7 separate regions of the Homo sapiens genome follow, and all the other regions are linked to region 1. Evidence: promoter capture Hi-C in 16 types of primary human blood cells and fetal thymus (Javierre and others, 2016). All regions are on one chromosome and are shown on one strand. Each heading gives the region's core, a stretch centred on a gene start or on the middle of the fragment in contact. The rest is flanking DNA. Distances are from core to core; before and after follow the strand shown. Region 1 holds the start of PLXNB2 (plexin B2). Region 2 overlaps SHANK3 (SH3 and multiple ankyrin repeat domains 3). Region 3 has its middle 10 kb from the start of SHANK3. Region 4 overlaps BRD1 (bromodomain containing 1). Region 5 holds the start of ZBED4 (zinc finger BED-type containing 4). Region 6 overlaps BRD1 (bromodomain containing 1). Region 7 has its middle 16 kb from the start of ARSA.

Region 1 (3,495 bases), core at 996-3,495:
GCATGTGCTTCCCCACAGCACAGTCTCGCCTCACTTGGCTTTCTGAGGGCTGCCGCACAGCACAGAGGGCTGCAGACCCACATGGCTGCAGGGGAGGGGCTTCAGGCTGGTCTCTGAGGAGCCCCCAGGGACCCTGGCCACTGTGTATCCAGAAATGCACAAGCAGATTTCCCTGGAGGGCTCTGGTGAGGCCACATAGTGGCGTGTGAAGGGGGAACTTGAGGGGGGAACCGGGCTGGGTGGCCAGCATTGCCCTGGGCAGAAGCTAAGGCTAAGGTGGGGGGTAGTGTCCCAGCCCCTCTTCCTCAGGGCCTGTCCCCACCTGTGCAGAAGAGGCCTGGGGTGGAATGTGGCCTGGGGTGGATGGGTGGGGGCTGGGCGTGGAGACCTGCCAGCTCCATCTGTCCGGATGCCTCTTGTGGCCCCCCCAGTGTCAGGGCCGCTCTGAGTTGGCTGAGCCTCTGTCCAGGGCTAGGCCATGGCCCTCCCCGCCCCACGCACTCCAGGCCAGGGGCAGTCAGTGAAGAGGCAGGAAGGTCCAGACAGCTCTACCCCTGGCCAGAGTGCCAGCCCCCGCAGGCAAGAGGGCTTGCTGGGCAGAACTTAGTTGGCGAGGGTGAGGACTGCTGTGGTCACAGGCCTCCCGAAGGACAGGGACCACAGAACCTAGAGGGTGGGAAGGGCTGGGAGCAGGTCTGGAGTGGGGCTCGGGGCTGAGGGTGCACACAGGGGGCCTGCTCAGGGACAGGAAGGACAGCTGCTCACCCTCAAGCTTCCTGCTGGCTATTTAAAGACTCCCTTTTAGTCTAGAACAGTGGCCTTCCCACAGTTTTGGTATTAAAATGTCCTTTTGTGACTGGACCTTGTCTTTTCCTTTTTTGATAAAAAGTTGGCAACCTTGTCAGAACCTGGTAATTTTGGGGTCCTCTGCAGTGAAGGGTAGGGTTGCCGTGATGTGGATTGTGGTTCAAGGCCCAAGGGAAGATTTTGGACAGGAACAAGGCCTGGCTGCTTGAGGGTGGGAGAAGGCAGAGACTGAAAGAACTAAGTCAGGCTGGGGGAGTTTGTCAGGATGTGGCGGGGCGGATCCCGGGTGGGGGAAGCAGAGGAGGAGGGGATGCCTGGCTGGGGACAGGAGGAAGCTGACCAGCTGCAAGGACGGGGCAGGTCTGGGTGGAAGGCGGGCCCCAGGGAGGGGTGACCCAGGGTGGGGGCAAGAGCTTGGGGAATGCTTCTGTCTCCTGCTCAGCACATCCAGTTCCGGGAGGGCAGTGGAGGCGTGCTCCAAGGTCTGGCCCTGCAGACGGTTCACCACCTCTTCTCAAGCCCAGGGGACACTAGGAGCACTGAGGCCAGGACTTGGGACCTGGGATGCCAGAAGTGGGGCCAGCTCTGTCCCAGAAACCAGAACCCCCAGAAAGAGGTCTCGGCCCGCCCACCTCCTGGCCCTGAAGGACCAGGTGGGGTCCCGGGTGCAGCATCCCAAGGTGCTGCTGGAGGCCAGGGATGTGCTGGGAGGCCATCTCCAGGTCCCAGTTTACCCTGGGAGGTTGAGGGCCTGAGACCCCTGGGAAAGGGCCAAAGCCCAGCAGCCCCCACCCCTGAAGGCCGCAGGGGAGCGACTGGTATGCTTCCAGTCTGGGAGTGAGAGTCTGGTGCCCACACATCTCAAGACTGGCAGGGACCCTCACGTTCCTCTGGCCAGGCGAGAGTGCACTCATAATGCCCTCCCCTGGTACCAAGCCATGGCCTCCCCTCAGACCTGCGGGGTTCCTGTGGGGGTGCTCAGGCCATGGGGCCTCTGTGGGCGCTCGTGCTTCCTGGACGGCGGCATGGTGGGCAGGGTGCTGCCCTGGCTGAACCTGGGTCTGAACTGGGGTGCCTGAACCTACCAGACAATGCTGTGGCCGCTGGGCAGGGGAGAAGTGGGGGGCGCGGGGAGCGCAGGCCCAGCCCCTCCCCTCCCGTCCCCTCCCCTCCTCTCCGGTTCTCTTCTGCCCTCTCCTCCCCGCTCCTGCTCCCCCTCCCCTCCCCCTCCCCCTCTTCCCCCTCCCCCTCTCCCCCTCCCCCTCTTCCCCCTCCCCCTCTCCCCCCTCCCCCTCTCCCCCCTCCCCCTCCCCCTCCTTCTCCCCCTCCGCTTTCCCTCTCCCTCTCCCCCCTTCTCCTGTTCTCCCCGCCCTCCCCTCCTCTCCCTCGTCGGGGGCGGGGCCGGCAGCTCCCGCGCGCTCCGGCCCCTCCTCGGCCACACAAAGGCCCCGTCTCCATGGCAGCAGCGCGGGCCAGAGCGCAGCGCCGAGCGCGGCCCGGGCGCCATCGAGCCTTGGCGGCGGACGTGCAGGTACCGAGCTCGGGGGACTGGGCTGCGGGGGACGTCTCGCTGGGCGTGGGGGGGGCTTCGCCGTCAGCGCCGCTCCGCCCGGGCCTGCCGCGCTGGGGCCCGGGGACCTGCGGCGGCTGCGGCTCCGCGGAGGGCTCCCGGGGCCTGGGCCCCGTCCGTCGGTCCATCCGGCGAGGCCCGGGCCGCTGCCGCCCCACTCCCTTCCCGGTGTTGACTCGGGGGACGGGCCCGGCGGCGGGGGCTGCGCGTCCCTCCGGAGCCGCGTCGGATCCCTCCTCCGCGCCTGCCTCTCACTCTTCAGCCGCCGAGCTCCGTGCGCCGAGCGGAGATGGTCTCGCGGTGCGGGCGCTCCGGGCCGGCCCCAGGCTCAGCGGCACAGGAGCCTGGATTTGCCCGAGCTCCCGGGGGCCGTCCCCGCACCCCCTGGGGCCTGCTTGGCGCGGGGGGACCAGGGCGGAGAGCACCCGCACCTGGCGAGACCCCACTGCCTGGGCCTCCTCGCGGTTCCCAGAGTGGCGTCTGGGTGGACACCCCGAGACACAGAAAGTCTCAGAAGCGGGGGCGCGAGCCCTGCCTGTCCCCTGCTGACCCTGCCCCTCCGCACCCTGCTCCTGCAGGAAGCCCCTGCCCTGCCAGCGCCCCTGGTCGGGCTATTCGGCAGATCTGGGGAGCCCGCCTCCCCCTGTCATCTGGGGGTCTCAGAGCCCGGACGCCCTGGGGCTTCCTGCCAGGCCCTTGATTTCTCTTCCCGAAGCTCCCTGGGAAAGGAAGAAAGGGGTCCGTCTGCCCACTGTGGGCTGTGGCAGAGTCAGGACAGGGGGTGAGGGTGAGGGTGAGGGTGAGGGTGAGGGTGAGGGTGAGGGTGAGGGTGGGCCCCAAACCCGGCAGATCCCGGCGGCCTGGAGGGCTCCCTGTGCCCCACCTTCCCTGGACCCCCCCGCCCTCCCCACTTAATGTCTGACTTCGGCCCTTGCTTGGAGGTTCGGCGCAGCCTGTGAGGCTTTAAAGTTGAGCTTCCTCAGGAGCCCTTTGCGGGTGGGAGAGCGAGGCTGCCGGGAAGTGGGGGCTCTCAGCCTGCCCCATGCCCAGATGACCCTGGCACGGAACAGCTGAACAGCTGGTGGGAGGAGCCCTCCCTTTCCTGTCCAGAGGTGAGG
Region 2 (3,452 bases), core at 876-3,375, 410 kb before region 1:
TGGCACCAACAGGGACACAGTGAGCAGCAACCCTGACGTGTCAGACGCCCAGAAGAACCTCCTCTCTCGGGCAGGCCAAGCAAGACCGGATTCAGAGGTGGATGGCGGGGGCGGGTTGGGGGTTGCCACAGAAGGAATGGAACAGAACAAGGAGGAACAGGAGAGCCAGAGAACAGACAAGAGGAATGACAGACGGGGCCACGGACAAGGCACGGATCCCTCCCCGCACCGCCCTGCTCACCGAGCTGCTGCGATGGGCGACTTCTTGGCAGGGTCCAGCAGGCTGCCCAGGCCACCAACTGGTTCCTCCCCCAGGGAACGCGTGTCCTTGTTCAGCTGCTGCAGGCGGGAGCTGAGCTCACTGATCACAGTTGGTTTGTCGTCTTCAGGCCCAGGGAGCCCCCGGCTCTCCACGGGGTCCCCCCATAGCTTGGACCTTCTCTGGAAGAGGTAGCGAGGGCGGGCAGGCCCGGCGGCAGAGGCCAGCCCGGCAGAGGCGGCGTGGTGCTGCTGGGCCATGAGCTCGCTGTCCGAGGACTGCTTCAGCAGCGGGTCCCTGAAGGTCACCGGCCCCTTCCCCAGCGGGGACTTGAGCTTGGGCTTGGGAGGCACTGGTGGCTTCTCGAGTAGAAAAGTGTGTCCGTCAGCGAAGGAGGTGTGGGTGTCAGTGAGTTCCCCGCTCTCCGAGCTCAAGGTGGACATGCTGGACACCGTGGAGATGGTGCTTGTGGTCTCCAGGTGGGGGTCGCTGGAGCTGCGTGTGTCAGCCTCCTCCACCCCAGAGTCGGCTGCAGACTCAGGGGCAGGGGGTGGCTCACTGCTGGGCTTCCCTGAGGCCGGGCTGGGCACCGTGGTGGGCGAGGGGCCCGGGCCAGCGAGTGGGGTGGCCAGCAGGACCCCGTTGGCAAACTCTTCAGGGGGTGGCACCAACCCAATTCGGGCCAGCTCCTCCCTGGTCTCCTCATCGCTGGACGACAGCTGGGCAGGTGGCAGGTTCACAGCAAACACCAGCTCTGGCTCTTCCTCTGAGCTGCCCTGGCCTGGCCCGGCGTCTGCCGGGGTGCCACCAGGGGGCTGGGCCCGGGGGCTGGGCAGGGGCTCTGCCACAGCCGCTGACTGCATGGGGGCCGGGGCCAACTCCGGGGTGCCCGGGCGCTCCTCTTCGGCCCCCCCCAGCCTGCTGGGCTCCTGCCCGTTGCTGGTGGCGTGCACAACGATGAGGCCAGCTGGCCGCTGCAGGGATGTGTCCAGGACGCTGAGGATCATGGACTTCTTGTCCTCGGGTGACTTCCGCTCCTCCCGGGGGACCTTCTCTGCCTCCCTGCGAGCAGGCACAGGAATCCAGGCTGGGCTCCGTGGGGAGAAAGCCGGGGAAGCCAGGGACCCTCGCTCTGGGTCCCGGGCCTGTACATCCACAAACAGGGGTCCGGGGCGGTCGGCGTCGGGACTGTGCACGGGTGTGGGGGACCGGGAGGGCGCCTGGGAGGCCAGAGCTCGCTCTCGGGCAGCCAGGGCAAGGGCCAGGGGTGAGCTGGGGTCCAGGGGTTTGCCGGTGAGTGGGTGGATGAAGGTGGAACCCGAGGGCCCCAGGCTCGGGCCGCTGACCAACGGCTTCAGGGCAGACACCGGGGAGGGCAGCAGCAGGTCGCGGCCGGCGGTGGGGCCGGTCCCCAGGAGGCGCTCGTCGATGGAGCGGGAGGGCTGTAGGGATGGCAGATCCGCGCCGGGGGCGCTGCCCTCGATGGCCCCCACGGACAGGAACACAGTGGAGCGGCGCCGCTCCTCCAGCCGCCGGTCCTTGGCCGGGCCCGGGCCGCCGAACGCGAGCCCCGGGCCATCGCCCGCGCCGTAGTCGAGGCCACCCGGGCGCGGACCGCGGTGGGTCGGGGAGGGCTCGCGGGCGAAGCTGCCGCCGCCGGGACCGGGGCTGCCCACGGCCAGGGCCGCGCGCTCCTGCGCGTCCTCCACCTGCAGCTGCTTCACCAGGGGGCTCTTGCGGCGCTGCGGCTTGGACGGAGCGAAGAGGCTGGCGCTGAAGGCGCCCAGGTTGGCGTAGGGGCTGTCGGGGCCGGGCGGCCGCGGCCGGCGCTTGGGTCGCTCGGGCGGGGTGGCCGCGGGCGGGGGTCGAGGGGCGTCGCCCGACTCGGGCGCCGAGTCCTGCAGGATGATCATGGAGCGCGCGCGCTTCTGCCGCTCGGGATACGGCAGCGGGCCGAGGGCCGCGCCCGGCTCGTACAGGCCGGCAGCGCCCGCGCCCAGGCGCGCCTCCAGGCCGGGCTTGAAGCTGGAGCGCACCGTGTCGTAGGCGCGGCCCGGCGGGGGCGGCGGCGAGAAGGCCGGGGGCGGCCCCGAGTCGAAGTAGTAGGGCGCGGGCGGGGGAGGCGGCGCGGTCTGCGGCGGGGGCGGGATGCCGCGACCCTCGCGCACCGGGTCTTGCATCGAGGTGCTCCGCGGGAAGCGCCCTTCCAGCAGGGACGCCAGCTTCTCGTCCTCCCCTGCGGACGGAAGGGCCGGTGAGACCAGCCAGGGCGCTGGGCGGGGGGTGGTGCTGCCTTCGGAGAGGTTCCTGGGGACCCCGGCAACCCCCTCCCACAGAGGCCAGCCTTGACCCGACTCCACCCCGGGGAAGCCACCGTCCGGACACAATGGACGCCCGCGGCAGAACCCGGCGCGAGGAGCTAGAATGCTCGGGAAGATGGGGTTGGGACCCGTGGTGGGCGGGGAATGGAGGGCAGGGGAGAAACAGGGAGCCCAGAGCCCGGGCTCCGAGCAAGACCCTGGTCTGGGCTGGTCCCTGGATGCCCAAGCTCTGTGCCCCAGGCCCAGGGCTGCACGGGGAGGGCTCTTGTGAAGAGGACAGGAGAGAGGTGTGCGTTCAGTTACAGGATGGAGGAGGGCCCCACCGGGGACCCCTGAGAAAGGACACAAACTCTGACGGCCTGGGTTGGGGCCAAGACCTGCCCAAACCCAGGGTCATCAAGCAGGCCCTGAGAAGATATCCCAGAAAGGCAGGGACAGCCCCGCAAGACATGGGGACAGAACTGCTGAGGGGCTTGGAGGGGCCAGTACAGGGCTCCCCACCCCAGAATCAACAAGGCCGACGCAGAAGTACCAGCCCTGGAGGCAACCAGAGGTGAGAGGAAGATAGTCGGAAATGAGCAGGAGTGACACACTGGCAGGGTGAGGGGCAGCAGGGCTGTGGCCACTGGAGCCAGGCCTCCAGCAGAGAAAGACCTAATGCCCACCCAGGTAAGGAGGTGCCCTGTGGAGGAAGCCTTGAGAGGCTCCTCCCAGAGACCCGCATGGGTGAGTGGGTGAAGGGAAGAACGGACGGATCAATCAAAATGGAACTGCAGGCTGAGCACCCAGCATGTTTCATTTTAACCCCTACTGGCAGCGTGACCCCAGGCCAGGCCCTGAGCCCCTTTGAGCTTCAGTAACCCCCCTCTGCA
Region 3 (3,490 bases), core at 875-3,374, 350 kb before region 1:
TATAAGATATATGTATTGCAAAAGTTCTCTAATTTCTTGGCTTGCCGTTTCATTTTTGTAATAGCCTCTTTCAAAGAACAAAAGTCTTGCATTATTATAGAATTCAATTTATCTTTTTTGTTTAATCGTTCTCATATTCTTTGGGTTCACTCTAAAAAATCTTTGCCTACCACAAGATCACAAAAATATTTTCCTGTGTTTTATAGTTTTATTTTATTTCTTTTTTTTAAGAGATGGGGGGCCAGGCGTGGTGGCTCATACCTGTAATTCCTGGGAGGCCAAGGCGCATGGATCACCTGCGGTCAGGAGTTGGAGACCAGCCTGGCTAACATGGCAAAATCCCGTCTCCACTAAAAATACAAAAATTAGGTGGGCACGTTGGCGCACGCCTGCGTTACAGCAGGAGGATTACTTGAACCCAGGAGGCAGAGGTTGCAGTGAGCCGAGATCACGCCACTGCGCTCCAGCCTGGGCTACAGAGCGAGAATTCGTCTCAAAAAAAAAGAGATGGGGGTCTCACCATGTTGCCCAGGCTGTGTAGTTTTAGCATTTACATTTAGGCCTGTCATTAATTTCAAGTTAATTTTTGTTTTTGGTATCAAGAAAAGGTAGCTGTTCATATTTTTTTGGGGGGAGCATGTCCAGTTGTTTCAGAACCATTTTTAAGATTTTTAAATTTAGTTTTTATTGTGGTAAAATATACATAACAAAATTTACCATTTTAACAATTTTTAAGTATACAATTTTGTGGCATTAAGTGAATTCGCCACCATCTCCAGGACATTTTCATCACCCCGTATTAAACTATACTCACTGAACAATAAGTCCTCCAGTCTCCTTTCCACCCAGCTCTTAGAACCACAGTTCTGCTTTCTGTCTCCATGTATTTGACTATTCTAGGGACCTCTCAGCACCATTTTTAAAAAGACTTCCTTTTCCACTGAATTGCCTTTGCACTTTTGTTGAAAATCAGTTGTCCACATATGTGTGGGTCTATTTCTGGACTCTGTCTCTATTCTTTTCCTTTGATCTATATTTATAACTTTCTTCAATTCCATACTGTTTAATTTCTGTAACTTTATAGTAAGTCTTGAAAGCAGATAAGTCCTGTAACTTTGTTCTTTTTTAATTTGTTGGTTATTCTAGGTCATTTTTATTTCTATATAAATTTTAGGATCAACTTGTCAATTTCTAACTCCCCAAGAAAGCCTGCTGGGAATTTGACTGGTATTGCACTGAATTTGTAAATATATTGAGAGAATAGACATCTTAATAATATTGAGTTTTCTATTATATGAACATAGTATATTTCCTCATGTATTTATTTGTTTATTTATTTTGTAGGGGCAGGGTCTTGCTTTATTGCCAAGGCTGGTCTCAAACTCCTGGCTTCAAGCAATCCTCCTGCCTCAGCCTCCCACATATTTTGGTCCTCTTTAATTTATCTCAGCAATGTTTAGTAGCTTTCAGTGTAGCATTCTTACACATTTTTGCTAAATCCATTCCTAAAAATTTTGTGTTATTTCATGTATTACAAATAAAAATTTTAATATAATTTTAATTTCATTTTCTAATTTTTTTTTTTGAGATGGAGTTTCACTCTTGTTGCCCAGGCTAGAGTACAATGGCATGATCTTGGCTCACTGCAACCTCTGCCCCCCGGGTTCAAGTGATTCTTCTGCCTCAGCCTCTCGAGTAGCTGGGATTACAGGCATCCGCCACCACACCGGTTAATTTTTTGTATTTTTAGTAGAGACAGGGTTTCACCATGTTGGCCAGGCTGGTCGTGAACTCTTGACAGGTGATCCACCTGCCTCGGCCTCCCAAAATGCTGGGATTACAGGCATGAGCCACCGTGCCCAGCCTCATTTTCTAATTGTTGATAGTATAGAAAATCACCTCTTTTTTTTTTTTTTTTTTTTTTTTTTGAGACAGGGTCTCACTCTGTTTCCCAGGATGGAGTGCAGTGGCATGATCTTGGCTCACTGCAGCCTTAACTTCCCAGGCTCAAGCTATCCTCCCACCTCAGTCTCCTGAGTAGCTAGGACTACAGGCACACACCACCATGCCCAGCTAATGTTTGTATTTTTAGTAGAGAAACACAAAATACACAGGTTTTCGCCATGTTGCCCAGGCTGGTCTCGAACTCCTGAGCTCAAGGGATCCACCCACCTCAACCTATCACACAACTATCTTTTGCATATAAACTTTGTAGTCTGTGACCTTGTTAAATTGCTTAGTTCTAGTAGCTTTTTTTTTTTTTTTTGAGGCAGAGTTTCACACTGTCACCCAGGCTGGAGTGCAGTGGCGCGATCTCGGCTCACTGCAACCTCCACCTCCCGGGTTCAAGCAATTCTCCTGCCTCAGCCTCCTGAGTAGCTGGGATTAAAAATCTATTTAATAATGTAATCCAAGTTTTTTTTTTATTTTAGAGACAAGGTCTCACCATGTTGCCCAGGCTGGTTTCAAACTCCTGAATTCAAGCAATCCACTCGGGTTAGTCTCCTATTTTTGACAACATGGATGAACTTGGAGGAGATTATGTTAAGTGAAATAAGCCAGGCACAGAAAGACAAACGCAGCATAATCTCACATATGTGTGGAACATAAAAAGAACTCAGAAATGGGGTGGAATGGTGGTTATCAGGAGCAAGGAGGTTGTGGGGGAGATGTTGGTCAGGGAATTCAAAATTTTAATTAGAAAGAATAAGTTCCGCCTGGCATGGTGGCTCACGCCTGTAATCACAGCACTTTGGGAGGCCAAGGCGGGCAGATCACAGTCAGGAGATCAAGACCATCCTGGCTAACATGGTGAAACCCCGTCTCTATTAAAAACACAAGAAATTAGCTGGGCGTAGTGGCGGGCGCCTGTAGCCCCAGCTACTTGGGAGGCTGAGGCGGGAGAATGGCGTGAACCTGGGAGGCAGAGATTGCAGCGAGCCGAGATTGCGCCACTGCACTCCAGCCTGGGCAACAGAGCGAGACTCCATCTCAAAAAAACAAAACAAAACAAAAAAAAAGAAGGAATAAGTTCAAGAGCTCTACTGTACAACATGTTGGCTATAGTTAATAACAATGTATAGTGTACTTGAAAACTGTTAAGAAAGTATATTTTAAGTGTTCTCACCATAAAAAATGATGTGGGGTAATGCATATATTGATTAGCTCAATATGTTGCACATGGTAAATATATATAATTTTCATTTGTTAATTTAAAAAAAACAGTCAAAAGAAAAGATAAATATCTCCCAAAGGAATAATTAGACTGACAACAACAGTGAAGGTCAAGAAAGAGAGTTAAGAATAACCATTAACTCAGAATTATAGTTCTCATTCATTTAAGAATGAGATTGATGAAAAAAATATTTCCAGAAAAGGAAGAGAAAAAAATAAACTTCAATTATTTTTCTCATTTTAAAAGGCATATATTGTTCCTTTTCAAATCTACCATGTTCTTTGGTTCCTATTCTTTCTGATAGTTTCCTCATTC
Region 4 (3,361 bases), core at 491-2,990, 490 kb after region 1:
TTTGTATTTTTAGTAGAGGCGGGGTTTCACCATGTTGCCCAGGGTGGTCTGGAACTCCTGAGCTCAGGCAGTCTGCCTGCCTCTGCATCCCAAAGTGCTAGGACTATAGGCGTGAGCCACCATGCCCAGCCGTGCGTGAAGATTTTTAAGAATTTCAGTGACTAAACTTTAAGAAGGAATGAAGCCCACGCAGGAACTCTGTATGACTTTCAACCCGAGGGGCTCTGGCCTGGGCTTCCCAGTGACTGCCGGCATCGGGACATCCACTGCTGTGGCCTTGGCCCCGTTTCCCGTGCTGTGCCCCCCACTTGCTGCAGATGCCCTGAGGAAAGGGTGGCCAAACAAGGGGAGGAGCTGTGAGCACAGATGGGGCCTGCCGGTCAACAGGGCGGGTAGAGCCAGCCTGGTGCTGAGCTTGCAGCTTGGCTGGGGGAGACGCCTAGAGCCCCAGTACCACACAGACCCTCCAGGACTGCCGGGGGTCAGTGAGCAGGACCCTCTGAGGTGTCAGACCTGCCCCACATGTGAGGGGAGGACAGCACAGGTGGGACGCATGCAGGCTGAGCTGCATCGGGCGGTGAGGCTGGGAGGTTGCAGTGAGCTAAGATTGTGCTACTGTACCGCAGCCTGCGTGACAGAGTGAAACTGTGTCTCAAAAAAAAAAAAAGAAGTTTTAAGTGATTTTTGTTAATATTACTCTACTTTACCAAAGTGAAGTCCAGTTTCTTTTCACAGAGCTGTAAATACTCAGATAATTAGTCAATTCAGACAGAATGAACAAAAAATGCTCATAATCCTTCCCATCCAGGGAAAACCCTGTCAAAACCAAGGTGTTTGTCTTTGTAAATTAATCTGACTTTGAAGAGATGGTTTTGCTTGGATTTCTACCTATGAGTCAAAAAGTCTAGGGTTTGTATTAAGAGCTTCTGTATAAGAGGTCTAAAAATTTCAGCTTTACTGAAATTGAAGCAAAATAAACAAAATGTGATCTAACAAAATGAAGAGCCAAAAGTCTGAAGTGCTCCCTTCCCTGGCCAGTACCAGATGATGACCTGCTCTGGGAGAGGCCGGGCCTGGCCGGGCCGCACGCTCTCTGTTCTTTGGCTCCTGATGTTGGGTAGGCAGGACTGAAGGAGGCAGTGTTTGCATGCAGGACATGGGGGCTGAAGTGGCCAGGGCTGATTGAGAAGAAAACTCGACCTAAATATTTGAAAGCATGTATTGGAGCTAAACCGCGTACTGTGTGGTTCTGTTCTTTTCCTAACTTGGGAATAAACTATTATTTCAGCTTCGAGTAGAGAGAGAGAAACAAACCTGGACGAGTGTTCCTGGCCGCGGTCTCTGCAGTCTGGGTTTCCCAGTCTCCAGGAGATGCTGGTGCTTCAGGCCACCTTGCCACCAGTGGAGGAGCTCCCAGTGCGCCTGGCCTGTTGGCACCATGGTGCTGGACCCACCTCTGGGGTGGTTGTGAGGGGCAGGCTCTCAATACAGTACTGACTGCTGCCTGAAACCGGGTTTACTGCCTTGCTGTGGTCTGAGAGGCAGCTGATCTGGCAGCCCTGTTCTTAGGCCCTGGGCACTACCCCTGGGTGCATGTAGGAGGCCTCAGCTGTGCATTTGAATTCTGTGTAGATGAGGGTGAAGCTTCTTATTTTTTATTTTATGTTTAGAGACAGGGTCTTGTTCTGTTGCCCACGTTGGAGTGCAGTGGCGTGATCATGGCTTACAGTAGCCTCAAACTCTTGGACTCAAGCGATCTTCCCGCCTCAGCCTCCTCCCAGCCTCAGCTGGGAATACAGGCACGAGCCACTGTGCCTGGCCCATGGTGAAGCTTCTTGATGTGCAGCCGTGGGCGGGGATGCTGAGTCTAGTTGGTTATGGTGTGCACTAACCAATGGCTCCGGTGTAGGACCCACCTAGAGCATCTGAGGATGTTATGCTTCAGGCCAGCCAGTCACGCTGGAAGGGAGATGAGACCCCATCTGAGCAGCGTTTTAGAGATTTTAGAGAAAGAGGATCTTCCTTATTCCCTGTGGACAGAACAGAATCTGCCTTCAGGGACGGACTGCTTTTATAATTCTAGTGGTTTAAAAAATTAAAATTTCAAGTAAAAAAGATAGTTCTTTTTTTTCCCCCCTTTTTTTTGAGGTGGAGTCTTGCTTTGTTGCCCAGGCTGCAGTGCAGTGCGGTGATCTTGGCTCACTGCAACCTCCACCTCCTGGGTTCAAGTGATTCTCCTGCCTCAGCCTCCTGAGTAGCTAGGATTACAGGCACCTGCCACCACACCCGGCCGATTTTTGTATTTTTAGTAGAGACGGGGTTTCACCATGTTGGCCAGGCTGGTCTTGAACTGCTGACCTCAGGTGATCCACCCGCCTCGAACTCCCAAAGTGCTGGGATTACAGGCGTGAGCCACTGCGCCAGGCTAAAAGAGATAGTTTTAAGGTTATAATCTGTTTTTTTGTAAGTTTGATATACTATGATTAAATAATAACAGCGGTAAATAAACACTTTGAAAAACAGGCAGGGCTGGGTGTGTGGCTCACACCTGTAATGCCAGCACTTTGGGAGGCCGAGGTGGGTAGATCACGAGGTCAGGAGTTCGAGACCAGCCTGGCTAACATGGTGAAAACCCATCTGTACTAAAAATATAAAAATTAGCCAGGCGTGGTGGTGCGCGCCTGTAATCCCAGCTATTCAGGAGGCTGAGGCAGGAGAATCTCCTGAACAGAGTCCTGCTCTTCTGCTCAGACGGGTGCAGTGGCATGGTTATGGCTCACTACAGCCTCGACCTCCTGGGCTCAAGCGACTCCCCCACCTCAGCCTCTTGAGTAGCTGGGACCACAGGCATGTGCCACCATGCCCTGCTAATGTTTTTATTTTTTGGTGAGATGGGGTCAAGCAATCTGCCTGCCTCGGCCTCCCAAAGTGCTGAGATTACAGGCGTGAGCCACCATGCCTGGCCTTACATTGATTTATTGTTATTTTTTCTTTTCTGTTCTTCTTTTTTTTCCTGAGATGAAGCCTCGCTCTGTTGCCCAGGCTGGAGTGCAATGGCATAATCTCGGCTCACTGCAGCCTCCACCTCCCAGGTTCAAGCGATCCTCGTTCCTCAGCCTCCCGAGTAGCTGGGACTACAGGTGTGTGCCACGGTGTCTGGCTAATTTTTGTATTTTTTTTGTAGAGATGGGGTTTCACCATGTTGTCCAGGATGGTCTCAAACTCGTGACTTCAGGTGATCTGCCTGCCTTGGCCTCCCAGAGTGCTGAGATTACAGGCGTGAACCACCGCACCCAGCCCTATTTTTTCTTTTCACTTCCTCTCTCCAGCATACATCAGTTTTTATTAACGGATTGAGTTG
Region 5 (3,071 bases), core at 10-2,509, 450 kb after region 1:
CACCATGGCCCCAGCAGGCAGAGAGGCAAGCACCTCTGTCTCTCCTGCTCCCCTCCGCCTCAGAAATGGCAAAGAGCTTATTTTATTCCTAACAATGCCTCCCAGAATTTGAACTACAAAAGCACATATCCAGTGATGACCAAGGAAGGGATCTGAGGTACTGCAGAATGTAGAAAAACCTAGGTGCTAAAAAGTGGGGAGCAGAAGGGCCTGGAAGGCTGGGATGCAGAGAGGCCCGAATCCTTGAAAGGGCTGAAGCCAGAGAGCTGCTGGAATCCACAGACACTAAAAGAGAAAGCCAAAACCAAACCGCTAAGGGGTGTCACGGGCTAAAGGCACAGTGACTTTCTTACACAGCCAAATGTAAATAAGAGCAATTCCTATAGGTACATTCTCAGGTCCTGAGATTTAAACAGTGAAGGAAACAACGTTGGTAAGGAAGGGCCAGCTTGGCCTCTACCCCAGGGCTGGGCAAAGCCACGCCCAGCTGTTTCACCTGCTCCCTCCTCTCAAAAGACAACCACCACACCAAAGAGAATGAGACCAGAAGCTAAAGCCAGGCAAAGAAAAAAACGCAAAACAAAGTGAAGGACGGCACTGACCACGGTCACTTCCTGCTCCTCATGCCGCCAGGAGTCCACTCCCCAGGGCTCCTCACCAAGGATCTGAGACACACACACACACACACCTTTCGCTAAAGAAGCTGCTTCTCAGCTCCTCTGCACACACACAGAAGTCAGTCCGCTCCCCTAGTAATTTTTTTAGTCTTTCTGCAAGGTGTTATGGACATACTTTGCACAGCTGAGTTACTCACTGTGTGTGTGGAGGGGGTTGGGGAGGAGGTAACCTTAAAGAGCAGAGGTTTTACATCCAACAACATCAACCACCTTATTCAGGAATTACCTGGACAAGAGTGTGTGTTGGGGGAGACCCTGTAACCACCTGTCAAGTGGACTAAAAGTCTTAGGTTTCTTTCCATATAGATTAACTGTGTCCTCACCTCAAAGACCGGGCCTCTGAAGCTTTTTCAAGATTCACAGAATCTCTCTTAACTTGTGCTAGATCTTTTCTTGAAAAAAAGCCAATCATGACAAGCAGATATAATCCGTTTAAGGACTACGGGAAGTGTGCAGCCTTGTACGGACGTCCCATTGGAAACCCTCGGAGTATGGAATCAAACTCCTGTAAACTTTCCTCTTGCAAAGTAACTTTGTTTAGTAATTGCAATTAATTCATAATCAAAATGTGGCTTATTCATAGCACTTAAAAAAAAATCCCAACCAAATCCTTCCTAGCCTCAATTTTGTCACTATGAATGACATACACAGAAAAAATAAAAAACATTTCTGTGTAAAAAGTCGCAGGATGCCCTTGCTTTACCAAACTGGCCTCACTATGAGGTCTGAATGGATTTCTAAAAACGTAATCTGATCAGAGTTAACTTCAAAATAAATAACTTCCCTTTCGACCAACACGAGAACACCAACAGAAGCTTCTGACGGCTCAGCTTGGCCGGGACGTGTTTCCACAGAGGTGCCCGGGTCTACCAGGGCCACCCGGAATAGAAAGGCGCAGAAGGGAGCCCGAGGGGCTGCGATTCTCTTAGCAACGAAGGCGGTGTGGGCCACACAACGGGACAAAAGAAGAAACAAAACTGACTGCGAGCTCATTTGGGTGTAGGAAAACCACTGCAGTCGAAAAACATTTGAAATTATGGTTCGCAAGGCAAGTTACATTTTTATTCATTAAATGTGAACGGTCATCCCCAGAACCACGTACAATAACCTGCCTCGGGGCGCGTCGCAAGGACCCGTCTGGGCTGAGACATGAAGCAGGGCCCAGGTGGCCCTTCCTGGAGGTGGGACGGGAATGACACGTCCAGAGAAGTCCCAGGGACGGGGCTCGCGGGGTTAACTCGACGTGGCCGGGACAGCGCGCTCCCGGCGGACCCGGGCGGCGCCCCGAGCCCGAGCCCCGTCCCGTCCGCCCGGAAGCAACGGCGCGGGCACGTGGGCCAGGCCGGGCGCCGACCCCCGGCACTCGGCCGCTCAGTCGGCGCCGCCCCCGCGCCAGCTGTCAGGGCCGGGGTCCGCGCGGGGGCGGGTCCGGGGCGGCGCCGGGCGGGGACCCCGAGGCCACGGAACCGCGCCCCCGCCCGCCTGGCCCCGGCCCTGGCCCCGGCGCGGCGCAGACAATGGCGCGGCCCGGCCCGGCCCCGGCGCGGTCCGCGGGGGACGGGGCTCGCGGCAGGCGGCGGGGCGGCGGCGCCCGCGCACTCACCTCGGCCCGGCCTCTGGGGCGGCTCCCGGCCGGCTGCGGACGACGGCGGCGCGGGCGGACGCTCCATTCATTACCGCGGCTTTGTCTGCCCCCGCGCCCCTCCCGCGGCCCCGCCGCCCGCCGCCCGCGACGCCGCCGGACGCTGCGCCCCTCCCAGGGCCCCGCGCGGCGCGGGGCGGGGCTGGCCGGGGGCGGGGCCGATCGGGGGCGGGGCCTACTCTCGCAGGCGCAGTGTCCGCGTACCCGCCCCGCCTCGTCCCTGGCCGGGCGGGAGGACGGAGCGCCGGAGGCCCGGCCGCTGGGGCGGGGTCGGGCGGAAGACGCAGGCGCAATGCGCGCTTCGGCTCCGCCCCCGGGTCCAGGAGGGCAAACTACGCAGGCGCAGTGGGCGCTCCGGCGCTGGCGGGCGACGGGAAGGGCTTAGGCGCTCTGGCTGGGCGGGGCGCGGGCGCCTTGGTTTCGTCCCGTGGCTTGGCAGTTGGCAGCGGCTCGGCGCGCACCCAACGGCCCACCGCGGGTTTCCGGGACGGCTAGCAGCGCGGTTCCCGGTCCCGCCCCGAACCCCCTTACCTGGCGCAGAGGCCGCTCAGTGCGGTGCGGTCAGGCCTCGTGGGCTGGGACCTAAGCCGTTGACCCTAAGGCGATCGGGGCTCCCCGCGCGGCCCCCCCGGGGGACGGGATTAACGCCTAAGCCCCAAGCCGGGTCGGCGGGAGGAGGGCGGCCCTCTGGGCGAGCGCGGGGCCGGGGCTGGCGGTGCGGAGCGCACGGGACTCGCCCGCTTCTCAGGGTC
Region 6 (3,431 bases), core at 512-3,011, 510 kb after region 1:
CAGGGAGAACGGGGGCGGCAGCTTAGCTTTATAAAGGGTGAGCAGCGATTTGTGTGTATGCTGGTGGCGTCCCACTGTCTCCTGCTCCCGTGGCCCACCCTTCCTGTCCTGGGAGCGCATCCTGCAGCTTTCCCAGTGTCTGTCCTGTGGCATGCTGGGCGCTGCTGCCCACATCGTCCTTGCTGTGCTGCGTGTGTGGCCTCTGCCAGTCCCACGCACCTGCTGGCGGCATTGGGCCCAGTGGCAGGAGCTGGGTGCTGTTGCCAGGAGGCCTGGGGTCGGCCACTCTGTAACACTGTGGGCCCTCACCCCAGGAGCTGGCCTGTCCTCCCAGCAGAGGCGATTTTAACCTGACCGTCGCCTAGCCCTGCCCTGTGTCTCCCCCATGTGTCTGGAATGGACGCGGAGGCGCTCAGCTTCTTCCCGGCAGTGGGGATGCCTGAGTGCTTCTTCACTTCTGTCCTTTCTCGTGGAGCCTCCCACTGTTGATTTTTACATGGGAAATATCGAGCCCTTGAGAGCCGAGTAAGGAACCTTGATCCTTCTGAGTGGATGAGGCTGCATGTGTCATGGGACCTTGGGCCCAGGTGCTGTCAACGGGGCCCCTGCCACTGCCGATGGCGTTTGTTAAACCAGGTTGGGGAGCAGACTAGTAAGTTTGCTTAGCAGCCAGTGCGTGATAAAGGGCTTCCTGGTGATGAGGAGATTTCTTCCGCTTCGTAACAGATTCCCAGGCCAAATGTCCTTTTGGCCGAGGTTTTCAGAAGTGTCGATTGCAAGCTGAGGGACAGGCAATACTCAGATGCTCCGGGGAGCTTGGTTTTTGGAGCCCACATTTTCCTGCCTTTGCTTGAGTTGATGTGGATCTTGTTACTCTTAGCCCCGATTTCCTGCCTGAGGGTGTTCAGCAGCATTGAGGAAAACCCAGAGATCCTCACTTCAGGGGACATCAGCGCAGCAACGCTCTGCCTCGCCATGGAGAGGCCTGGCCTTGGGGGTGGGGGTGCGGGGCTCGGCCTCCCTCCTTGAGCCTCCTTTTCTGAGCAGTTTGGAGTCCGGGGTCCTTGCATCTTGTAGTCCAGCAGTCTTTGCCTTCACACCCTCGGTCCTTTGAAAAGCTATGACAGTACCCTGAGGTGGGCAGGTGGGAACCCGGGGACAGAGGCGTTGGGGGAGAGGAGGGTCTCAGGGCTGTGAAGCATGTGCCAGAAACTGATGGCCACGGCTGTCCTGAGGCTGGCAGGGCGCGCGTGTCCTGCAGCTGTGGAGGATGACAGGTGTTGGGGGCCCACTCAGGCCAACTCCCTCGTTGACTTCCTCTCCCCTTTGAGGTAGGGTCAGGGTGCCCCGGCACTGTGACGAGCAGGCCTCATGCGGCCAGGCCTGGGGGACATGGTGAGGACAGGGCTGAGGGCAGACCCAGGTGGCCTACTCTCCTGCGACCATCTGTGTCATGGCCTTTGCAGGGCTCTGATTTTCTTCTGATCACCCTGGTGTGGATGTTGGCTGGGTTGAGGCTGGCGGCCTGTGCTGTCTGGCGCACTCTTCTGTCCACTGAGAAGGGAGCAGGTGCTATCAATGGAAATGGGACCCTGGCTGTGGGGAAACGTGTGTCGGGATGGAGGCGCTGTGCAGGGCAGGGCAGCAGGTCGGCTGTGTGCCAGGCCCCCGTCATGCTCTGTCCAAGCCAGGATGGGCCCAGCATGTGGTTTTCTGTGCACCTGGTTTCTTTCCAGCCGCTCCCTCCATTCCCAGCTGTCCTGGAGGTGGGTCCTCAAGGGTCCCCCATTCTGTCCTGGCCCCGCCTTTGTGGGCCTTTCTGGTTCTGTGAAGGCCCCCCCCGCCGCCAGCTTGCGGAGGCCTCTGTCCTCTCTGGAGGGTGGAACCTGTGCACCGGGGCCAGCCCCCTGCTCACCTTGGCCTGGCGGTCCCCTCTGTCCCCTCCATCCCCTCTGTCTCCTCTGTCCCCTCTGTCCCGGTGCTGTCCTGGGGCTCTCTAGTGAGGGTGGTCTGTTGTCCTCCCCAGGATGGGCCTGCAGGACCCCTGACGTGGATGCCTCTTGGGGTCTCACCTGCATGGTATCTGAGGCCTTTTGCAGAAGGAGCCTCTGGGTTTGACTGACGGAAGTGTTCACTGTTCTCAGAGAGAAAATGATGAGGAGATGAAGGCTGCCAAAGAGAAGCTGAAGTACTGGCAGCGGCTGCGGCACGACCTGGAGCGCGCTCGCCTGCTGATCGAGCTGCTGCGCAAGCGGGAGAAGCTCAAGCGTGAGCAGGTGGGGCTGGGCCTGTCCCGCGTGGAGTGCACCACTGGCCACGGGGCGTGGGTGGGACGCTGGCAGCTCCTGCAGAGGGTGGGCTGCACCCGGTGGGTCCTGGCCCACAGCAGTGCCTTGCTCAGCCCAGGCTGGGTGCCTGGCTGCCATGGGTTGCAGAGCCCTAAGTGGAGGCTGCGTTGTCCTATGCCTGGACGGAAGCACAGGAGCCTGTGGGGGCTGCTTGTGGCTGTGGGGCGCGTGGTGGGGCTGAGACGCATGTGCGGCTCCCTAAAGCTGAGGCTCTGCTGGGCCCCCCCAGGTGAAGGTGGAGCAGGTCGCCATGGAGCTGCGGCTGACCCCGCTGACGGTGCTGCTGCGCTCAGTGCTGGACCAGCTGCAAGACAAGGACCCCGCCAGGATATTTGCGCAGCCCGTGAGTCTGAAGGAGGTGGGTGTTTGCGGCGCTCGTCTGTCCTGCCGCATGTGTGACTGTGGATTTGTGCTGCCGTTTGACCGGGAAACGTGTGATTGGCTAGAGTACATCCCTTGTGTTCTTAATTCTCGTTTTTATTTAACGTATTTGTTTTTAAATTATAAAAGTGATACATTTCATTGTAAAATACTGAAAGTGCAGTGGGCAAGAGGCCCTGTGCAGACAGTACCCTGGGCTGTGGCAGCATCCGCCCGGCACCCTCCAGCGTGCTTTAGCTGAAGGAGCTGGGGTCGGGAAGGTCCCTGCAGTACTTGGGTCTTATGTCTGTACCGTCTGCGTGTCTGTGTGTGGCTCTCAGATAGGATGGGCTTGTGGGTTATATGGAATAATAAATATAGAGTCAACTAATATCCTGTTTTAGTTTGTAAATGATTCTTTTTCCTCCCTAAAATTAGGTACCAGATTATTTGGATCACATTAAACATCCCATGGACTTTGCCACAATGAGGAAACGGTTAGAAGCTCAAGGGTATAAAAACCTCCATGAGTTTGAGGAGGATTTTGATCTCATTATAGATAACTGCATGAAGTACAATGCCAGGGACACCGTGTTCTATAGAGCCGCGGTGAGGCTGCGCGATCAGGGAGGTGTTGTTCTGAGGCAGGCCCGGCGCGAGGTGGACAGCATCGGCTTGGAAGAGGCCTCGGGGATGCACCTGCCTGAGCGGCCTGCTGCGGCA
Region 7 (3,418 bases), core at 459-2,958, 340 kb before region 1:
GTTCTCTGGTTTTCTTTGTTTTGTTGTTTTTTCCACTTCTGCAGCTGCAAAGAATTTTAGCCAAATTAGACAGGCTTGTTATCCATAATTTGGAATTCTCACTCAGATTTGACCAAGTCAGGTATGGTTGGTCAAATCTGATGGGAGAAAGACCAGAATAAACAACAAAAAACCCCAACAATATGATCACAGAAGGGTCTAATGGAGAAATTAAGACCAGCTGATGGTTAAACGTTAGCCAAGACAAAACCCCAATTCGGCTACTTACCTAGGGATGGGTCTCAGGCCGAAGATGGCTCTCTACCATCCTAGAAGCAGGAAAAAACTCGAGCTCGTCTTCCCTGCTGGGATCGAGCTCAAACTCCATAAAGGAGTTACCTGCGTTCCATCATCATGGAAGCATGAAAGCTTGCCTTCCTTGTTGGACGCAAGACAAACTCCAAAAAGAAGGGAGTTGTACAGCAAATAAACTTTAGATCTTAACCAAATTTTGGAAGCTCAGGGATTCTCTGGAGGGGATGCTGCCAGATCTCAGCAAATTGTCCTGTTGGTTTGAGCCATAAAGTTAGCTCATGCTGGTACCAAGCACTGATAGGAGATTTGTCCAAATCAGGGGCATCTCCACTCAGAATCCCTCCGTGGTTACCAAAATGTGAACCCCGAATATCTGAGATGCTCTCAGTTAATTTAGAAAGTTTATTTTGCCGAGGTTGAGGACACATGCTCGTGACACAGCCTCAGGGGGTCCTGACAACATGTCCCCAAGGTGGTCAGAACACAGTTTTGTTTTATACATTTTAGGGAGACACAAGACATCAATGAACATACGTAAGACGAACATTGCTTTGGTTCAGAAAGGCGGGACAACTGGAAGCAGGGAGGGGACTCCCAGGTCATAAGTAGATCAGATATACATCTATCTCAGTGAGCAGACGGGTGACTTTGGATACAATGGGAGGCAGGTTTGCCCTAAGCAGTTCCTAGCTTGACTCTTCCCTTTAGCTTAGTGATTCTGGGGCCCCAAGATTTATTTTCCTTTCACAAGCTCATGCCTGGGCACAGGAGTGGGAGAGAGAGCTTGGGGACCAGGCTGCCCTCCTGAGAGAATGCCACAGTGGTGGGCATGAAGGAGTCCAGGGAGCAGGATTCCAGGTTGGGGAAACAGCAAGCTCAGTGGCCGGAGGCTGGAGGATGCCTGCAGCCAGCCTGGGCAGACAGCTTGAGGGCACTATATCAGAGACAAAAGTGACTCAATGACCCTTGTTAAAGCACAGTCAGGCACACTTCATTCAGGACCATCACCAGAGGTATAGAGACCACTGGAAGGGGAATTGGCAGCGGGGGAGAAAGACTGGACTCAAACCCAAATACAGCCTGGGTAACTGGGAGTTTATAGCCAAGGAGCAGGGTGGGGGCAGGAGATGTTAATGTACTAAGGGAAAGCATCAGGTGTGAAGAGGATTCTTGCTGAGGACAGGCCAGAGTGACCAACATCACCTGCCAGGTGGTGGAGGGTGAGGAACCTGACCAGATATGATTGCAACCGCCTTTGCAAAACTGCGACTGAAGCAGTGAAGGAGATCTAACATCTAACATCTAACCAGCTCCATCCTGCTTCTAGCCTTTAAGCCATGCTTGTTCCTCCATGGGCGCAGGTTGAACTAACTTTGGGAGGAGCTTGGTTTATAGTTGACAGTTTAAAACAAAGATGAACAGCCCTTTCCCCAAACAAACCTCTTTCTTCCCTGCGGACTAGTCTGCCTTTATAGGACTAACAAATTAGCCACAAGATTACAAATTATGGTTTAGGAGTCATGCTGCTGGAGGCTGCAAGATTCTGATCTTCCCTAAACTGCTCCTAAGTAAGAACAGTGCAGATTCTGATCCTCCCTAAACTGCTCCTAAGTAAGATCAGTGCAGATTCTGATCCTCCCTAAACTGCTCCTAAGTAAGATCAGTGCACATTCTGATCCTCCCTAAACTGCTCCTAAGTAAGATCAGTGCAGATTCTGATCCTCCCTAAACTGCTCCTAAGTAAGATCAGCGCAGATTCTGATCCTCCCTAAACTGCTCCTAAGTAAGATCAGCGCAGATTCTGATCCTCCCTAAACTGCTCCTAAGTAAGAACAGCGCAGATTCTGATCCTCCCTAAACTGCTCCTAAGTAAGAACAGCGCAGATTCTGACCCTCCCTAAACTGCTCCTAAGATCAGTGCAGATTCTGACCCTCCCTACACTGCTCCTAAGATCAGTGCAGATTCTGACCCTCCCTAAACTGCTCCTAAGATCAGTGCAGATTCTGACCCTCCCTAAACTGCTCCTAAGATCAGTGCAGATTCTGATCCTCCCTACACTGCTCCTAAGATCAGTGCAGATTCTGATCCTCCCTAAACTGCTCCTAAGTAAGATCAGTGCAGATTCTGACCCTCCCTACACTGCTCCTAAGATCAGTGCAGATTCTGATCCTCCCTAAACTGCTCCTAAGATCAGTGCAGATTCTGACCCTCCCTAAACTGCTCCTAAGATCAGCGCTTGAGGTATTTGCAGACCCTGCGCTTGATGCATCAGTTGGCACCACCCAGATCCATAAACTGGCTCATCTGATCCTGTGGCCTCAACCCAGCAGCTGACTCGGCACAAGAGGACAGCTTCGGCTCCCCATGATTTTGTCTCCAACCCAACCAATCAGCATTCTCAACTCACTGGCCTTCCCCCACTCACCAAATTACCCTCAAAAACTCTGCTCCCCGAATGCTCGGGGAGACTGATTTGAGTAATAATAAAACTCTGGTCTCCCATACAGCCGGCTCTGCGTGAATTACTCTTTCTCTATTGCAATTCCCCTGTCTTGATAAATCGGCTCTGTGCAGGCAGCGGGCAAAGTGAACTCACTGGGTGGTTACATAAAGGGTGATCAGGTCCTTACTAAAACTGGATTTTACAAGGAAGTGCACAGATGGGCTCCGGAGAAGGTTCAGGAGCTGCCGTCTGCCCAAGCAGAGAAGCTTTCATTGCCACACAGCAGCTACCTCACACCTGCCACGGTTCTTGTGGGCAGTGGATTCCGTCCTCATCTGCTCAAGACTGTGCCCCCAAGCCGGGCGCAGTGGCTCACGCCTGTAATCCCAGCACTTTGGGAGGCCGAGGTGGGCGGATCACAAGGTCAGGAGATTGAGACCACCCCGGCTAACACGGTGAAACCCCATCTCTACTAAAAAAATATTAAAAAATTAGCGAGGCGTGGTAGCGGGCTCCCGTAGTCCCAGCTACTCAGGAGGCTGAGGCAGGAGAATGGCGTGAACCCGGGAGGCGGAGCTTGCATTGAGCCGAGATCACGCCACTGCACTCCAGCCAGCCTGGACGACGCAGCGAGACTCCGTCTCAAAAAAAAAAAAAAAAAGGGCTGCCCCTCTTTCTGG

What was found. The method cuts DNA at HindIII sites, captures the fragments that hold promoters and counts their contacts. A CHiCAGO score of 5 or more calls a contact.
Region 2: a fragment that was not itself captured here is called in contact with the fragment with the promoter of PLXNB2 in region 1 in 1 of 17 cell types (naive CD4 T cells); the score reaches 5.2 in naive CD4 T cells.
Region 3: a fragment that was not itself captured here is called in contact with the fragment with the promoter of PLXNB2 in region 1 in 1 of 17 cell types (naive CD8 T cells); the score reaches 5.1 in naive CD8 T cells.
Region 4: a fragment that was not itself captured here is called in contact with the fragment with the promoter of PLXNB2 in region 1 in 2 of 17 cell types (total B cells and naive B cells); the score reaches 6.6 in total B cells.
Region 5: a fragment that was not itself captured here is called in contact with the fragment with the promoter of PLXNB2 in region 1 in 3 of 17 cell types (monocytes, total B cells and M0 macrophages); the score reaches 5.3 in monocytes.
Region 6: a contact is called between a fragment that was not itself captured here and the fragment with the promoter of PLXNB2 in region 1, in 1 of 17 cell types (monocytes). The highest score is 5.1, in monocytes.
Region 7: a fragment that was not itself captured here is called in contact with the fragment with the promoter of PLXNB2 in region 1 in 1 of 17 cell types (neutrophils); the score reaches 7.3 in neutrophils.

Annotation. Positions count from the first base shown.
Region 1 is chr22:50,306,396-50,309,890 of GRCh38, reverse strand. PLXNB2 (plexin B2) reads left to right here and starts at 2,245. Exons shown (of 37, transcript NM_012401.4): 1 at 2,245-2,338. DENND6B (DENN domain containing 6B) reads left to right here. Exons shown (of 20, transcript NM_001001794.4): 20 at 1-861. RefSeq lists silencers at 1,174-1,223, 1,924-1,973, 2,134-2,333, 2,344-2,413, 2,934-3,084 and an enhancer at 3,392-3,495. The HindIII fragment of the contact is 14,640 bases long and covers 775-3,495 here.
Region 2 is chr22:50,719,227-50,722,678 of GRCh38, reverse strand. It overlaps SHANK3 (SH3 and multiple ankyrin repeat domains 3), which reads right to left. Exons shown (of 25, transcript NM_001372044.2): 24 at 242-2,495. Among named protein-coding and RNA genes, the nearest start is that of ACR, 17 kb to the left of the region's middle. The HindIII fragment of the contact is 7,975 bases long and covers 1-3,452 here.
Region 3 is chr22:50,660,610-50,664,099 of GRCh38, reverse strand. No RefSeq gene overlaps it. Among named protein-coding and RNA genes, the nearest start is that of SHANK3, 10 kb to the left of the region's middle. The HindIII fragment of the contact is 8,082 bases long and covers 1-3,490 here.
Region 4 is chr22:49,818,914-49,822,274 of GRCh38, reverse strand. All of the region lies in intron 2 of BRD1 (bromodomain containing 1), which reads left to right. It also overlaps the pseudogene LOC100420885. Among named protein-coding and RNA genes, the nearest start is that of BRD1, 7.3 kb to the left of the region's middle. The HindIII fragment of the contact is 187 bases long and covers 1,647-1,833 here.
Region 5 is chr22:49,853,199-49,856,269 of GRCh38, reverse strand. ZBED4 (zinc finger BED-type containing 4) reads right to left here and starts at 2,426. Exons shown (of 2, transcript NM_014838.3): 1 at 2,281-2,426. It overlaps LOC124905147 (a long non-coding RNA gene), which reads left to right. Exons shown (of 2, transcript XR_007068156.1): 2 at 984-1,768. It overlaps LOC105377205 (a long non-coding RNA gene), which reads left to right and starts at 2,758. Exons shown (of 5, transcript NR_188597.1): 1 at 2,758-3,071. RefSeq lists silencers at 1,779-2,068, 2,239-2,968, 2,989-3,071. The HindIII fragment of the contact is 470 bases long and covers 1,025-1,494 here.
Region 6 is chr22:49,797,833-49,801,263 of GRCh38, reverse strand. It overlaps BRD1 (bromodomain containing 1), which reads left to right. Exons shown (of 13, transcript NM_001304808.3): 4 at 2,145-2,276; 5 at 2,578-2,706; 6 at 3,147-3,431. Among named protein-coding and RNA genes, the nearest start is that of BRD1, 28 kb to the left of the region's middle. The HindIII fragment of the contact is 3,930 bases long and covers 1-3,431 here.
Region 7 is chr22:50,642,731-50,646,148 of GRCh38, reverse strand. No RefSeq gene overlaps it. Among named protein-coding and RNA genes, the nearest start is that of ARSA, 16 kb to the right of the region's middle. RefSeq lists enhancers at 1,795-2,294, 2,295-2,796. The HindIII fragment of the contact is 2,596 bases long and covers 411-3,006 here.